Linked DNA regions of Homo sapiens: region 1 is linked to region 2. The links are contacts of gene promoters, found by promoter capture Hi-C in blood cells and fetal thymus (Javierre and others, 2016). All regions are on one chromosome and are shown on one strand. The core of a region is centred on a gene start or on the middle of the fragment in contact, and the rest is flanking DNA. Distances in the headings are between cores, read along the strand shown.

What was found. Contacts are between HindIII fragments. The CHiCAGO score rates a contact against its expected background, and 5 or more counts as called.
Region 1: a contact is called between the fragment with the promoter of CLEC5A here and the fragment with the promoter of PRSS37 in region 2, in 5 of 17 cell types (monocytes, naive CD8 T cells, megakaryocytes and 2 more). The highest score is 9.3, in monocytes.

The regions. Positions count from the first base shown.
Region 1 is chr7:141,945,724-141,948,423 of GRCh38, reverse strand. CLEC5A (C-type lectin domain containing 5A) reads left to right here and starts at 1,450. Exons shown (of 7, transcript NM_013252.3): 1 at 1,450-1,617; 2 at 2,112-2,210. The coding sequence starts at 2,132. RefSeq lists an enhancer at 1,769-2,700. The HindIII fragment of the contact is 3,527 bases long and covers 1-2,459 here.
Region 2 is chr7:141,840,122-141,842,842 of GRCh38, reverse strand. PRSS37 (serine protease 37) reads left to right here and starts at 1,358. Exons shown (of 5, transcript NM_001008270.3): 1 at 1,358-1,827. The coding sequence starts at 1,794. The HindIII fragment of the contact is 13,045 bases long and covers 1-2,721 here.

The DNA of each region.
Region 1 (2,700 bases), core at 201-2,700, 110 kb before region 2:
ATCCAAGTAGAACAAAACACAACTTTAATGTTCCAAAGCCCTCCAAATGTACATGTCTTTTGATCCAGCATTTATATTTCTGATAACTTAGCCCAAGAAAGTTATTAAGGACATGTAAAAGGATGCATGCACTTAGCTGTTCACTGTGCATTGGGAAGATAGTTAGAAGAGTTTTAGAAAATAGTTAGAATACTAAGGATTTATGTTTAAGATGCTGAGTATCACGCTATTGAAATTACAAGCATTATCTTGCTCATTTCTCGGAACAATCCTATGTGGTATTTACTATAATTACTCCTATTTATAGATAAAGAAATGGAAGGTAAAGAGACTCAGTAACTTAATCAAGGATGTTCAGCTAGTGAAGGTCAGCTCCAGGAATCAAAAGCAGGACTGATTTTTAAAACTTTGTTCTTGTCCACCACACTTTACTAGAAGATTTGTGGTTATGCAATTGTTAAAGAAATAATATACTTTTACACCTGAATAAATAAATCATATAGTTTTACACCTGAATGCTATGCACATATTAAATAATACATTATCAAAATCTATATTTTGACATGAAAAGATATATATAACATAGTGTTAGCTTAATCTTGAGCAGATAGATTGCAAAACAATATGTACAATATGTTCCCATTGTTCTTTGTGAACCAGTGTTTTTCTGTCTATCTATCTATCTATCCATCTATCTTTCTATCTACCTACTCATCTCGAAAGGATACACCCTGAGGTGCTAGCAATGACTATAACTAAATGTACAAGGTTATAAATGGTTTTGTTTTCTCAATTTTCCTTGTTAATATTTTCCAGCCATTTTTTTGTCATGAGCACAGTAGTTTTCATAGTAGGGAAAATAAAAGCAAATTTTCAAATTTAACACGAAATTAAAAACTCCTTGACAATAGGACTTGAGTATTGTTCACCCCAGCCCACTGCTGTATCCAGCAGAGTGCCATGTTCAAGAAACACTGAAGAGCCACCATGAGGTCTGGAAGGTGAGCAGGTGGTGCCAGAGAGGAGTCCATGATAAAGGGGAATGAGCAGAGCTCCAGCAAATGGAGCAAATGGAACAGCAAGAACCTGCTCATTCATATTAGTGTCTTCAACTGGATTTCTTAACATTTTTAACTTGACATAATTTCAGACTTGCAGAAATGTTGTAAGGAAAGTACAAATAACTTCCAGCTACCTTTTATCCAGATTCAATGTTTGTTAAAATTTTACTACATTTCTCTTCCCACTGTATTTCAAGGAGATTTAGACACAGAGGAAGGGTGAATCTGTGTTGAGGTATTTTGTTTTCCAAATTGTCCTTAAAATGTTCCTCTGCATTAGAACTCTCCTGGCAGGAAGTCTGCTCTTGCCACCACTAGGGCTAGAGAGTCTCTTCCCTTCTTTGCCCCGCCTGCTCCCTTTGCCAAGAACCCCACTGAACAGGAAGAGGTATTTCTTGGGGATGCTACCAAGGCAGAGACTGTGAAGAAGGAAGAACGTTGCTTGGGCAAAAGGAGCATATTCTCAGGAGACGGGGCCCCTGCCTGCCACACCAAGCATTAGGCCACCAGGAAGACCCCCATCTGCAAGCAAGCCTAGCCTTCCAGGGAGAAAGAGGTGAGTCTGTCTGTCTGTCTTGGCTGCATGGACTGTTGACCAATGCCAAGACCTTCAGGGATGCCTGTCCTGTCTGTCACCTACCCCTGGTATTTGGAAGACTGAGGCTTCTGACAACTTAAGTCAGTATGGTGAAGGCTACAGACTAAGGTCCTTGGGAACAAGGGTCATTTCAAGGATAAGGGTTCTCAAAATACAGGAGAGGGTTTAATTATTAGACAGAATTTAGGAGGCCACAAATAGGGCAAGGCTGAGGCCTGGAGTAGGGAATGAGTGAAGGAGAGGCAGTATGCCAAGTTCCAAGGCTCCAATCAATACATGATTCTTTCTGTGTTCGCGGCCCACGCTGGGTCACCTCCTGGTACCTGTCAATGTCATGCCTGTCTTCCAAGCCTGCCTTGCTTTGGGTACTCTGAGCGAGAGGCTGGGATATGTCCTAGTGAAAAGCAGCCTTGTACCCGAATTCTGATGCTGCTGTGCTCTAATCTTCACAGGCCCCTGCAGCTCCTTCATCATGAACTGGCACATGATCATCTCTGGGCTTATTGTGGTAGTGCTTAAAGTTGTTGGAATGACCTTATTTCTACTTTATTGTGAGTATTTGAGCAACCTCTTGCCCCAGACTTCATGTTGTCTTGCTCATTGACTCTTCTCTCAGAATGCATGGTTGTGTGTAAAGGTTACATATCCAAGTCTTTCCACCTGAGACTAACTGACCCAACCTGAGGTCAATTGGCAATGCCTTTCTCACTCCCCAGCACACACAGTGGCCCAGGCTCCTTGGTCTACCTTGGAGATATAGAACTTACCAGTTTCTGATGGTTAGAACGCCACGCAAAGCTTTTGCTAGTAGAGTATTATTTGGGTGATCTCAGCTGAAGTACTTGGCAGCGCTTGTTATTGTTGGCAAAATCTAAAATACAGCTCCAGTTCAACCCAATGACAAGGCCATGGTAAGAGCTGAAGTATAATGTAACAGGATTTAACTGAGAAAGAAATTTCTCTTTGTATACATATAAATTAATTCATCCAAATGCCTAGTTAAAGAAGCCTCCTATGAAAGGATTTTACTGCAATCAGAAA
Region 2 (2,721 bases), core at 109-2,608:
ATTTACTATCATTATCATACTTTAATATCTTGGCTTCTTGGCAATAGGTATTCAGTCCTTGCCCATGTTTTCCAAGCATCCCTGTACTCATGCAGTGGCCCACAAAAGTTGTGCAGTTGGGCAACTCCACTCCACATGGACATTGCCGACTGCCCAGGGATTCCCCACCATAGACACTCATTCCTGGCTCGAAGTTTGGTCTCTCTGACCCCATTTGTGATGCCAATTGTAACAAGAAAAATCCAGAATCATATTTTTAAAAAAACCTTTCCCCCAAACTAGGAGGGAGCCAAGAGACCAAAGAATGACTCAGACAAGTCCAGCTTGGCCAGTGGATAAGTTTATTAGGACTTACATATGAGACACTCCTAGATAGCAGAGGACACCTTTAGAGACCTGCCCTGCTTTCCATCTCTAAGCTGCTTTTAAGCTAATTTTCTGGCTCTTTGCCTACTGTGTGTGCATGATGGGACTGTTTTCCTTGATAGGTTCTCAGGTATTCTCTGGGATGTTTGGGTACTCAAGGACACCTGCTCCTCAGCTGGACACCATGGCGTTGACTCACCACTTGGCCATCAAGGATACCTGCTTCTTGGCTGGGCACCGTGTCCTTGACTCACTACTTAGCCATTAAGGTTCAAGCAGTGGTCATACACCCTTAAGTATCCTGGTGGGGGACCTGCAACCCTACACCAGTGACAAGGCCTATTTCTCATTGTCCACGACATGTGACTTTGGGAAAACTACTTAGATTCTCTCTGCTTCAGTTCTGCCACCCACAGACCAGAAATAGATACCAGACCCAGCCCTATCTCTTCTTTCTAGGGTTGTTGTGACATTTGGAAAGAGATTATGGGTTTAAGAAACTTTAAAGGGTTAGAGTGATACAAAGTGTAGTGAATTTTACATCTCAGACTAACCTGATATAAAATCTCTACTGACAAGTCCGTAAAGATCTTAGCTCAGTGCCTAGGATTCAGTAAATGCTTAGAGGATATCAGCTATTAGTGTTACCGCTCATTTTCTTGTTAGACTATGCTCCCAATTATCCAAGGATGACTTTGGTAGTCTAATATTGGTCTAAGTCTTTAAGTATTAGAGGTACTGCCTTCTGAATTGTCACCAGGCCTAATGTCATCTAGACTGTAAACAATTCCCCAACTATCAAGATAACTGTTCTATGAATGCTTTTCATTTCCATATTTTCTTGGCTCAATGCTGTTGCTCAGGACAAAAAACACCAAGTTGGTGATGATGACTGAGTGATGAAACAGTGATCAGAGGGACATATGAAGCTAGTGTAACAAAGATGGGAGGGGCTGGGGAAAGTATAAGTAACTATTAGGAGGTTCAGAGCAAACCTCAGGACACTTACTCCCTGAGCTAAGGTAAAGAATATTGTCCCTCATAGCCCTGGTCTCAGAAACTCTGTGGGGAAGATAAGTCCTGAGCCTAGAGCTGCCATTTCCACAGACAACTGAACTACCTTCAAACAGATGTGTTTTTAGGGGCAGCAGATAGAAGGAGCTGAATCCAGGAGTTTCCTTCCCTGAAATGCCCCAACAGAGGCACAGTCCTCCACCTTCCCTGGAACAGAGGGCTTTCATCTGTCTCTCTGAAGCCATCTCCCTCCCCTGTTTATGCCCAGAGCTGCTTTCCAATCCCATGGAGTGCCTCCGTATCTAACCATAGCCACTGAGTCTACCAGGTGTTCCTGAGAAGACAACTAAGCCAACCGCTCCACACTCTGCTGATTTTCTTCTACATCTCACAGGGGGAAGAGCTGGATCACCATGAAATATGTCTTCTATTTGGGTGTCCTCGCTGGTATGTACTCAAGACCTTGTACTCTGTCCTGTAAGGCACAGTTTAATGGATGGGGTGAGACAGAGGCAGGATTGCGAAGGGTGCAGAAAAAGAGTCAAAAATAGTGTCATCAGCAGAATTAGGAGTCCTGCCTCTCAGACTCCATCCAAAGGCTCTCCGGATAGGCTGAGCCCACTTTTCTAGTGTTAAGCTATAGGGTGGGTTAAGGCACACATGTGCCTTGGAGAAGGCTTAACAGTGAGTGTCCTCCCACCGACACTAATGCAGAAAACAGAGAAGTAGAAACAAAAGATCAAGTACTAGGACCCTACCTTCTGTAGTCCTTGCCCCACATGGGGTTCTTCTGACAGCAGAATTTGCAGATGAGGCATTTCCCACCATTCTCTGACTGCCTAGGTTGTATCACACATTAGCTGTGTGAGATTAGCCAAGTTAATTAACTCTTCTGTGCTTCAATTTCTTCAAAATGGGGGTATGACTACCCATATTATAGAGCTATTGTGAAGATTAAATAAATCTATGTAAAGCACTTAGAACAATGCCTGCTATAGAGAGCTCAATGTCTCTTGCCCTTGTTTACAGTCTACCCTTTTCTCTTTGGGGTTTCTAACTGTGTGATCACACAGAAGGGTGTGGTGAGGTACAGACCCAGTCTTGGGGAAGGTTAACAGGAGTAGCAAGAGAAGCCAAGACAAGAAGAGGGCTTTATTTCTGATACTAGAATCAGCCTTCCTCCCCTTTATTCTCTAGGGTATGTTTTAAATAATTCATTTATAAAAACAATATATGTTCATATTACAAAATTTAGACATTTTTAAAGTAGAAAAATAAGCATCATTCATAATCCCACCTCTTAGTCAACACATGCTAACACTTTGAGTTTACTCTCAGAAT